Regions from separate parts of the Homo sapiens genome. Here region 1 is linked to region 2. The links are contacts of gene promoters, found by promoter capture Hi-C in human tissues and cell types (Jung and others, 2019). All regions are on one chromosome and are shown on one strand. Each heading gives the region's core, a stretch centred on a gene start or on the middle of the fragment in contact. The rest is flanking DNA. Distances are from core to core; before and after follow the strand shown. Region 1 overlaps P3R3URF-PIK3R3 (P3R3URF-PIK3R3 readthrough). Region 2 holds the start of LURAP1 (leucine rich adaptor protein 1).

Region 1 (5,769 bases), core at 2,423-4,922, 82 kb before region 2:
AATTAGCTGGGCATGGTGGCATGCACTTGTAGTCCCAGCTACTCGGGAGGCTGAGGTAAGAGGATTGCTTGAGCCTAGGAGGTTAAGGCTGTAGTGAACCAAGATCATGCCACTGCACTCCAGCCTGGGCAACAGAGTGAAACCTGTCTCGAAAGAAAGAAAGAAAGAAAGAGAAAGAAAGAGAGAAAAATAGGTCAGGCATAATGGCTCAGGCCTGTAACCCCAGCACTTGGGAGGCCAGGGTAAGGGAATTGCCTGAGGCCAGGAGTTCAAGGCCAGTCTGGACAACACAGCAAGATCGTGTCTCTACAAAAATAAATTTGTTTTAATTAGCCAGGTGTGGTAGTGCACGCCTGTAGTTGGTCCTAGCTACTCAGAAGGCTAAGGTGGGAGGACCACTTGAGCCCAGGAGGTCAAGGCTACAGTGAGCTGTTGGTGACACTGCACTCCAGCCTGGGCAACACAGCAAGACCCAGTCACGCACACACAAAAAAACCCACACAGAAAAATACATCAAAATATATATAAATAGCTTTGGCATTACTTTAAAAGTTAGACTTATTAATTATTAAAGCATATATAGCATATGGAGAAATACAAAGCTAAGAAATTAGAAAATAAAGTGAGTAAGTCAGTTTGGAAATGACAAGCTATATAACTAGTAACATTCAGAACGCAACCACTTTTTACAACCTCACAGCTTCTACCCTTGTCCAAGCCACCATCATCCCCTCAGCTTGACTGTTGCAATAGCCTCCTAACCAGTTTCTCTAATTCTACCTTTCCCTCTTTCCACCAGCAGCCAGAATGATTCTTTAAGCCAAGAATCATAGTACATCACTGTTCAATACACTTTGATGGCTTCTCATCTTATACGAGTTTTAAAAGCCAAAGTTCTTACAATGGCTTACAATGGCATACATGGTGGGAAAGCCCCACCACCCATACCATTACTTGTCTTTTTTTTTTTTTTTTTTTGAGATGGAGTCTCCCTCTGCCACCCAGGCTGGAATGCAGTGGCACGATCTCAGCTCACTGCAACCTCTGCCTCCCGGGTTCAAGCGATTCTGCTGCCTCAGCCTCCCAAGTACCTGGGATTATAGGCGCCCACCACCACACCCAGCTAATTTTTATATTATTAGTAGAGACAGGGTTTTGTCATGTTGGCCAGGCTGGTCTCAAACTCCTGACCTCAGGTGATCTGCCCACCTCGACCTCTCACAGTGCTGGGATTACAGGCATGAGCCACCACGCCCAGCCACTTGTCTTTTTTTACTACTTTCCCCTCATTCCATTCTAGCCATACTGGCCTCCTAGATGATCCCTGAATATATCACAGAGATGCTCCTGCCTCAGGGTAGGTCATCTGATATCCTCTACCTGGAACCCCCATCCTCACACCTGTTATATTTCCATATGACCTGCTCTCCCATTGCTTTAGGTCAGGCCCTCCCTGGCCTCCTATTTAAAATAGCAGATCTCTCACCCTGTACTCTATTTTTATCCTCTGTTTCTTTCTCCACAGCATTTAACACCATCACTAGGTATTTTACTTATGAATTTGTTTATTCTCTGCTCTCCTCACTCCCTTAGAAATGTACAGTCCATGAAGCATTTTTGCTGTTTTGTTCACTACTACACTTAGAATAGTGCCTGGCAGTCAAATATTTGTTGAAAAACATGAATTAACACACAAACAAAAAAAATTTACAGGTGTTTACTATGTTCTAGGTACCACACTAAGTACTTGACAGTTATTAATCTACTAAATCCTCATAACCCTATTGAATGACCATTATCACCCTACTTTTTGGGTGAGGAAACCACAACACAGAAAAGGTAAGTAAATTGCCAAAGGACACATGTTAAGAAGTGGCAGAGGCACAATCTGAACTCAGGCGTTCTGATTCCAGAGACCCCTCTCTTAACTACTCCACTATACTGCCTCTAGATTTCTAACATACTGAGAAAAATCAATACTTAGGCACATCATACATTTTAATTGAAAGATATAATCTACAGGTTACTTTAAAGTAGTATTCCATTTTTTTGTTTTTTTTGAGATAGCCTCACTATGCTGCCCAGGCTGATCTCCAACTCTTGGTCTCAAGCAAAACTCCACCTTGGCCTTGTAAGTAGCTGAGACTACAGGTATGTGCCATTGTAACCAACTCCTAATTTTTTTTTTTTTTTTTTTTTTGAGACAGGGTCTCGCTCTGTCACCCAGGCTGGAGTACAGTGGTATAATCACAGCTCAGCGCAGCCTCGACTTCCAGGGCTCAAGTGATCCTCCCACCTCAGCCTCCCAAGTAGCTGGGACTATAAGAATGCACCACCATGCACAGCTAATTTTTGTATTTTTTGTAAAGACGAGGTTTCTTCATGTTGCCCAGTCTGGACGGCTCCTAATTTTTCAGGCTAGCTTTCAAATCATAAATCATTCCACAGGTCCCAAGTTTACTTAATTTACTGAACTTTAGAATTTTAAGTGTATAGTTTTGCAAAATGTTCTCTTACACTCATTTACTTGCTACACTAACACTATTCCAATGCCTATATTCCTCAAATTAGTTAACTGTAAACCAGAGATGTTAGCTTCCTCATCTTCTAGTAAGCAACCAACAAGATAGAAAAAGGTCTGTCTTATATTAACTCAATACTATGTGACCCTATGAAGTCCAACTTAGAAAATGAAAATGTGGCTGGGCGCGGTGGCTCACGCCTGTAATCCCAGCACTTTGGGAGGCCAAGGTGGGTGGATCACAAGGTCAAGAGATCGAGACCATCCTGACCAACATGGTGAAACCACATCTCTACTAAAGACAAAATTAGCCAGGCGTGGTGGTGGGCGCCTGTAATCCCAGCTACTCAGGAGGCTGAGGCAGGAGAATCGCTTGAACCCGGGAGGTGGAGGTTGCAATGAGCTGAGATCGTGCCACTGCATTCCAGCCTGGCGACAGAGGGAGCCTCCGTCTCAAAAAAAATAGAAAATGAGAATGCATTTCCCACAGCTAGATTTTAACTTTGAAAAAGTAAAAAATAACTTGCTAATACTGTTTATTGACAAAGACAATAACACTGAAGAGAGTTATGGTTTTCCAAATTACTTTCCTAGCATCAATTCTCTCCCTCTTCCTCTTTAACAGAATCTCTCCCCAATACAACCATATACCTCAGTAGAAGCCAACACCATTCCAGATTGAGAAACGTGATTAACCTAAGGGTTATTTACTGGTGACTGGTTCAGGAACTAGCCTATGACCCAATTCTGGCCAAAAAGATGGGAAAGAAGTTTGCTAGAGGTTTTTGTAGAAAGTTTCCTCTATCCAAAAACAGTGGCACAGGAAGAGATACTTTTCCTCTTCTTTTGGAAGTTGTTATTTATGGATATGATATGATGCCTGGAATCACCGCAACCATTTTGCTACTAGCCTGAGGATGAAGCCAGTCCCAAGGATGGCAGAATTGAGCAATATATGGCTAAGCAAAATATGGGTTTATACTGACATTGTTGAACTACTGAAATCAACTAACTCTATTAAATGAGAAGATAAAATTTATTATTTTTAAAGCCATTTTGAATTAGTTCTGTTGCTTGCAGCTGAAAACATATGAATTAAACACTTTTTATAAAATACATCCCAGAACTAATATCAGAAAAAAAGGTTGTGGTTAATTCTATAAATGTCTATTAGAAGTTCAACATAAATTAGACCATATTGAGTGACCCTGTTGTAAAAAGGTCACTCTATCCTCTATGGAAAAAAAAGCTTAATACATATGTAAGAACAGAATCTAAAGCAATATATTTCCAGCACAACAATTCCTTTCAGCAAGACCTTTTTCAGAGCAATTTTCATTCAGATTTTTAATTTTGATTCATAATTGAATTTTTCTTAAGTTTATAAATAAATACGGGTTGGGCACGGTGGCTCACACCTGTAATCCCAGCATTTTGGGAGGCTGCGGTGGGAGGATTGCTTGAGCCCAGGAGTTCGAGACAAGCTTGGGCAACCTGGAAAGACTCTACCTCTATTTAAAAAATAATAAATATTTAAAAATAAATAGTTAATAAATAAAAATTATCACAATATTTAAGATTACACAGTTGCATGCTCTGGATTTGTTGTTACATATCCTCAGGTAAGGATAGGCAATCTGGCCCACAAACAGAACATGAAACAGGAAGTCCAAGTATGGATAAGGGTAGATGGTATTGACTTTGGCTTTGTGTTGGCTCATCAATACCAACTCATAGGGCAGTTTTCATACTGATATGCGACATGCAAAATGGTATGATTTGGCAGGCTGGACGTAGCCTACTGCCTCTTTTATTAAAATAATGAACTTTAAAAATTAGCCAGGTGTGGTGGTGCATGCCTGTAGCCCCAGATACTTGGGAGGCTGAGGTGGGAAGGCTACAGTAACTTGTGATCATGCCAATGCACTCCAGCCTGGGCAACAGAGCGAGACTCCATCTCAAAAATAAAATAAAATAAAATAAAATAAATAAATAAAAGAAAAAGAAAACAATAAGATAACCCTTTTACTTTATGTGAATTTACAAATATGCACAAGGAACAATACATACAACATATATGGGCAAGCAATGTGGAAATTGATCTTTAATAAGGCTTGATGGCTCACTTTACTTGTTAAAAGTCAAGTCTTACACACAGTAAAATTAAGTGGTATAATAACACACTGGATAACTTAAAACTCTCCGTTTGGCCCTGTGTTATTTAAAACTAACCTAATACACTGTGAAAAACTTACTACTCATTTCTTTTTTGAGACAGAGTCTCGCTCTGTCACCCAGGCTGGAGTGCAGTGGCGCGATCTCAGCTTGCTGCAACCTCTGCCTCCAGGGATCAAGCGATTCTCCTGCCTCAGCCTCCTGACTAGCTGGGACTACAGGCGCGCCACCACGCCTGGCTAATTTTTTTATTTTTAGTAGAGATAGGGTTTCACCATGTTGGCCAGGCTGGTCTCGAACTCCTGACCTCAAGTGATCCACCCACCTCGGCACCTCAAAGTGCTGGGATTACAGGTGTGAGCCACCGCGCCCGGCCTATTCATTTCTAATTGTTCAAAGTTTCAAACACAATTTTACTCAGAGCTATATAAATCTTGCTAATAACATTAAGTATTGCATTTTTTTTCATTATTCCCTTTGTTACAATAAGTGCCCAGCCAATTATCTTCATAAGTTTAGAGGTCACATGCTGATAATAAATAATATTAACATTTTAAAGCTTAAGTCACAAAATGAAGCTAGTTGGATCCATGGGCCTAAAATTTAACAAAATACTTGGGCACTGGATGTTTAGGGAAAAAAGATACAAGCTGGGCATGGTGACACATGACTGTAGTCCCAGTTACTCAGGAGGCTAAGGTGGGAGGATCACCTGAGCCCAAGAGTTTAGGCTGCAGTGAGCCACTGCACCCCTCAGTGACAAAATGAGACCCTGTCTCAAAAAAAGAAAAAAGAAAAAAAGATATGAAGGAAATACAACAGCCTGACCTCAAGAAACTTATCTTGTTTGGGAGGTGAATTATATTCATGAAATAATTATCATAATATAACACATGATTCCAAGTCAAAATAACAGAGACAGCCCTACATATAAAAGGGTACAGTGCTAGAATTTTTGGAGAAAGTTTTAAGAAGGAAAGGGGACGCAGACAGGCTCTTGATTTAAAGATGGAGGTGAGACGGGCATATTCTACATAGGAAGCAGCTTAAGCAAAAGCTTGAGATAGGAATGA
Region 2 (5,801 bases), core at 2,984-5,483:
CCAGCTAATTTTTATATTTTTAGTAGAGACGGGGTTTCACCATGTTGGCCAGGCTGGTCTTGAACTTCTGACCTCAAGTGATCCGCCCGCCTTGGCCTCCCAAAGTGCTGGGATTATGGGCAGTGAGCCACCGTGCTGGCTATAGGCGCTATTACTATCCCTGTCGCAGATAAAGAAATAAGACCTAATATCACAAAGCTAGGAGAGGTGGAATTGAAACTCAGCCTAGCTCCAGATTCTGCTCTTAACCACTGCACTCTGCTGGCAACAATACATAAGAATTGCCAGGTTTAAATAACATCATACATAGAAAGCAGTTAGCTTAACACAATGGTTCTCAAACTTTAGCTTGCGTCAGAATCACCTGGATGACTTCTTAAAACAGAGGTGCTGGGCCCCATCCCTAGAGTTTTAGATTCAGTGGTCTGGGGCAGGGTGGGATTTTGCATTCCTGAGAAGTTTCTAGGTGATGTTGATGCTTGTTTGAAGTGGATAGCCATAGAACAGTTTTAGGCAGGGGAGCAATATAATCCAATTTCTGTTTTAAGAGAACCTTTACTTTTTTTGTGGAGAATGGGTTGGAAGCAGACAGAGGAAGCCAGAAGACCAGTTAGATTTTTTTGAGCTTTCTGTATTCCATCTGCTTCCTGAATGGTGGGGTAATATCCCCCAAAATGAAATGTTAACAGTACTTGTCTTAGGAGTTAAAGAAATACATGATTTTTCCTAGTAAGTATGTATAAGAATGGAAGAAAACCCAACACATTTTATTACATTTGAAAAGATGTCCCGGCTGGGCACCATGACTCACGTAATCCCAGCAGGTTGGGAGGCCGAGGTGGGGTGGTCAGTTGAGGTCAGGAGTTTGAGACCAGCCTGCCCAACGCGGTGAAACCCCGTCTCTACTAAAAATACAAAAGTTAGCTGGGCGTGGTGACAGGCGCCTATAATCGTAGCTACTCAGGAGGCTGAAGCAGGAGAATCGCTTGAACCTGGGAGACAGAAGTTGCAGTTGAGATTGCACCACTGCACTCCAGCCTGAGTGACAGAGCAAGACTCCGTCTCAAAAAATAAAAAAATAAAAATAAATAATTAAAAGATGTCCCTCAGGGTTCCTTCCTGACCCTCTTTTCTCCTCAAACTGACTCTTCATGGATGATCTCATTCTCTCATGACCTCTGTTACCAATCTAGATGCCCAAACTGACATTGGCAGTTCTAACCTCTTTCCTGAGCTCCAGGCTGCCTGATGTCCAGCAGGACATCTTCACAGGCCCCTCTAACGCAACAGCACAACTTCTGGAATCATTTCCTTTCACTCCTAGATTTCCTGTGGGTTCCCCTCCTCAGTGAACTGCACCAGGCCAAACAGCTGGGAGTCACCCTTGACTCCTTGTCTGTCTCCAGTGACCAGTCCAGGTATGTCTTGCTCACCATTGTATTCTCTACACCACACACAAAGGCTGGCACATAGTAAGCTCTCCGTAACATTTGTTGAAATCATTCATTTGTATTTTTTAACAAATTTTTATTGAATGCCACTATAAATGAATGTAACCAGTCACCTAGTCCTGTCAGTCTTACCTCCTAAAGAGCCTTCCATTCTAGTCTAATTCTTCTTTGACCTCACAATCAGCCCCAGTGCAGGCCATTTCAGTTTCTTGCTTTCCAGCCAGTCTCCTTGACTCTAGATTTTTACTCCTCCTATCCTTTTCTCCTTGCAAAATCCAGAGTGATTTTCTTTAAGGCAAATGTTGCCGGGTTCGGTGGCTCATGCCTGTAATCCCGGCACTTTGGGAGGCCAAGGCGGGTGGATCACCTGAGGCGGATGGATCCGCCTGGCCAACATGGTGAAACCCCGTCTCTACTAAAAATACAAGAATTAGCTGGGTGTTGTGGCAGGTGCCTGTAATTCCAGTTACTCAGGAGGCTGAGGCAGGAGAATGGCTTGAACCTGGGAGGCAGAAGTTGCAATGAGCCAAGATGGTGCCACTGCACTCCAGCCTGGGCAACAGAGCCGGACTCTGTCTCAAAAAAAAAAGACAAATGTTTTGTCTATCTCTAACTTAAAACCCTTCCATGGATCAAAAAGTACCAAGGAAAATGATGTTACTTAAAATTATAAAGGTAGGCCAGGCATGGTGGCTCATGCCTGTAATCCCAGCACTTTGGGAGGCTAAGGTGGGAGGATTGCTTGAGGCCAGGAGTTCGAGACCAGCCTGGGCAACATAGCGAGACTCTATCTAAATTTTAAAAAAAGTTAATTACAAAGGTAACCTTAGATGAACTAAAAAGAGTGATAGAAATATGTAGTGCCAGGCCGGGCGCAGTGGCTCACACCTGTAATCCCAGCACTTTGGGAGGCTGAGGCAGGCAGATCACGAGGTCAAGAGTTCGAGACCAGCCTGACCAACATGGTGAAACCCCCGTCTCTACTAAAAATACAAAAATTAGTCGGGCATGGTGGCACGTGCCTGTAATCCCAGCTACTCAGGAGGCTGAGGCAGGAGAATCGCTTGAACCCAGGAGGGCAGGTTGCAGTGAGTCAAGATCGTGCCACTGCACTCCAGCCTGGGCGACAGAGTGAGACTCCATCTCAAAAAAAAAAAAAAAAAGAAAAAAGAAAGAAAAGAAAAGAAATATATATTGCCAATGGGGGAAAGGAACTACAGAGTGTGAGTTAAACCCATATATCCATATTTATCTGAATAGGACAATAAACAGCAGATGAATGTTTAAAATTGAGAAGTAGTGTGGCTGGGCATGGTGGCATACTCCTGTAGTCACAGCTGCTTGGGAGGCAGGAGGATTGCTTGAGCCCAGGAGTTTGAGTCCAGCCTGGGCAATGTAGGAAGACCCTGTCTCTAAAAAAGAAAAAATAGTGGTAGGATTTACAATAAGAGGATAGTTACTCCTACCCTACCCTTTCACACCTCTAGGCCCACTCCCAATTGGCAACCACTTTTAGTTAACTCTAAACAATAACGTTATGGGTATGAACACCAAAAGAAAAAAAAAAACTAAAAGTTATTTTTTGCCAATTGGGAGTGGGCCTAGAGGTGTGAAAGGGTAGGGTAGGGGTAACTATCTTCTCATTGTAAATCCTTCTGCAACCATGGGCTGGAATTACTTGAATTAAAAGCCTAAACAAACCAGAGTTTTCATGGCTGTTCATTACCTGTTAAATAAAACCCAAACATCTCAGAACCATTTTCTGTAACCTTGTTACTCAAAGTGTGGTCCCTTATTACTTGAAGTGTGGACCAGCAGCATGGCCATCACCTGGGAGCTTATTAGAAATGCAGGATCTTGGCTGGGCGCAGTGGCTCACACCTGTAATCCCAGCACTTTGGGAGGCCAAGGCAGGCGGATCACTTGAAGTCAGGAGTTCAAGACCAGCCTGGCCAACATGGTGAAACCCTGTCTCTACTAAAAATACAAAAATATTAGCTGGGCATGGTGGCGCATGCCTGTAATCCCAGCTACTCAGGAGGCAGAGGCAGGAGAATTGCTTGAACCCAGGGAGGCAGAGGTTTGTAGTGAGCCAAGATCGCGCCACCACGCTACATCCTGGGCGACAGAGCGAGACTCTGTCTCAAAAAAAAAAAAAAAAAAAAAAAAAAAATGCAGGATCTCAAGCCCCACCCCAGATTTACAAAATCAGAACCTACATTTTAACAAGATCCGCAGATAATTCATACGCACAGTCAAGCTTAAGGAGCATCTTGCTTGTAAGCCCAACGTGGACCTCTTCAGCTTCAGTACTGGTTGCCCTTTTCTACTCCGTTAGCCTGAATTCTAGCCCCTGGGGGGGGGGGGTGGTGTGTGTGTGTGTGTGTGTGTGTGTGTGTGTGTGTGTCTAGCTAAAATCCAGTCATCGTTTTATACCCAATTCCTCTGCTCCAGGAAGACTTCCAAGCCCTCTGCAGCTCTCTGTTACCGCTGTTCCTTAAACTCCCACATCTCTGACTGAAGCTGCTTAGACTTCATTCTGCAAACATGTATTGGGCGCCTGCTGTGTGCCTGGCTGGATTCAGTGCCAGGGTGGGGCGAAGGCGCTGAGGTCTCCGAGTGCTCTTTCAGGTCCAACTCCAGAATCGCCCAGCCCCACGCAATCCAGGGCCAGAGGTTGTGTGCGCAGCACTCGAATACATCCACAGACGGTGCTGCGCGGCTTTTCTGAGTGTTACGGCGCCCTCCTCCCGCCCCCGCGCCGCGCGGGCGGGGACCCACCGGTTTTGCTCCGCTTTAGCAGCGGCGAAGGGAGGACCCCCGGGAGCCGGTCCCCGGCGTCCGGTCGCCCAGCCCTTTTCAGGCTTGGGCCCGCATGGAGGGGACCGTGGAGTCCCAGACGCCTGACCTGCGGGATGTGGAGGGTAAGGTGGGCAGGAAGACCCCTGAAGGGCTGCTCCGCGGGCTGCGAGGCGAGTGTGAGCTGGGAACCTCTGGCGCCCTGCTGCTCCCAGGGGCGTCTAGCACCGGCCACGACTTGGGGGACAAGATCATGGCGCTGAAGATGGAGCTGGTGAGTGCTGAATCCATGGGCCAAGGGGACGAGTCCCTAGTGTAGGGCCGGGAGGGACGAACTCATGCTCCCAGAGTTAAGCTGGAGAGGAGGTAGTTAAAACTCTCCACCTAACTGCTCAGAATCCCTCCCAGATCAATCCGTAAACGCTGGGGTGGAGATGGAGTGACGTCCATTACTTGTCCCCCAAGAGTGAGTGGGGTGTTGATGGTCCTGAGGACTTGGGTTGGGAGCAGTGGGTTTTGGAAGTTATTCCTGCCAAATAATTGGGAGGAGAGAGATGAGGACTGGGAAGTACTGAGAACCCAACGCAGCACAAATTCCCCCCGCCTGTATGGGCCACCTATTCCCCGCCAGTCCCCGTTGTAAGGCAACCGGTTTTTTCTCCTTCTGCTAACCGGGAAAGGGTTTAAGTTCCTGTGAGGCCGCAGTGTTCCGCACAGAAAAGAAGTGGGTAAAGGGGCCTATCTGCTGAAAACTACCTGGACCAGGGGCACTGAAAACCTTCTCCGTTTCCTCTACATCCCCCAGCCCTACTTAAAATAATGGAAAGTTCCTAGACCCATAGCAGGGACAGAGAGTAGCAGCACCACTGGTGCTGATTCCCTCGCCTCAGACTCAGTCTCCTCCCAGCCAGTCTTCCAGGTAAACTGGATATTTGGATCTCATCTGTACATTCTTGGGGAGAAGAGGAAACAGCAACCCTCCCCTTTCTCTATTGCTGCTGGTCTAGATTCAGAGCCAAAAGGGCAGCCGAGGCCCTGGCAGGTTCCCCAGGGCCCTGATTCCGGTGAAGTGGGTGATTTACACCTGCCACTACTTTGCAGCCAGTTCTGGGGAACTGAGGAATTGCCATCGGCTTCCTGGCTCACAACCAGGAGCCCACAGTGAGTACGTCAGCTAAAGTCTTCCTGTGTGCCCAGCCTGTGCCAAGCTGGTCTGTGAAGGAGAAGGGGAAGGAAATCATGGGGGCTCTGAGACCAGCCAGGGCTCCGACGCCTGAGCTGAGAGGCTGGGAAGAGAGTCTGGTGGGTGGAGCAGTCAGGAAAGGCCCCCTGGGAGAAGGACTTGAATGCCAAGTGTGCACTTGGCCTTGAAGGTTGGAGGTGAGTGCCCAATTCTCCAGAGCAAGGCTGTGACTGTACCCACCTAAGCGGGGGCTTGCCTTTGCCTCACTGTACAAACTTTAGCTCAAGGCCTAGTAAGAGCCTATCTAGACTGTCTACTTGCTTTGAAAACTTTCACCCAGTGCATGTGCCAGGCAGCTTGCTGAGCAC

What was found. Contacts are between HindIII fragments. The study calls those that stand out against the background at their distance.
Region 1: a fragment that was not itself captured here is called in contact with the fragment with the promoter of LURAP1 in region 2 in 3 of the 25 tissues and cell types used here (IMR-90 fibroblasts, aorta and bladder).

The regions. Positions count from the first base shown.
Region 1 is chr1:46,117,596-46,123,364 of GRCh38, forward strand. All of the region lies in intron 1 of P3R3URF-PIK3R3 (P3R3URF-PIK3R3 readthrough), which reads right to left. All of the region lies in intron 1 of PIK3R3 (phosphoinositide-3-kinase regulatory subunit 3), which reads right to left. Among named protein-coding and RNA genes, the nearest start is that of PIK3R3, 12 kb to the right of the region's middle. The HindIII fragment of the contact is 3,664 bases long and covers 1,841-5,504 here.
Region 2 is chr1:46,199,101-46,204,901 of GRCh38, forward strand. It overlaps LURAP1 (leucine rich adaptor protein 1), which reads left to right and starts at 4,234. Exons shown (of 2, transcript NM_001013615.3): 1 at 4,234-4,524. The coding sequence starts at 4,327. It also overlaps a transcript of POMGNT1 not described here. RefSeq lists a silencer at 4,155-4,274. The HindIII fragment of the contact is 7,969 bases long and covers 1,054-5,801 here.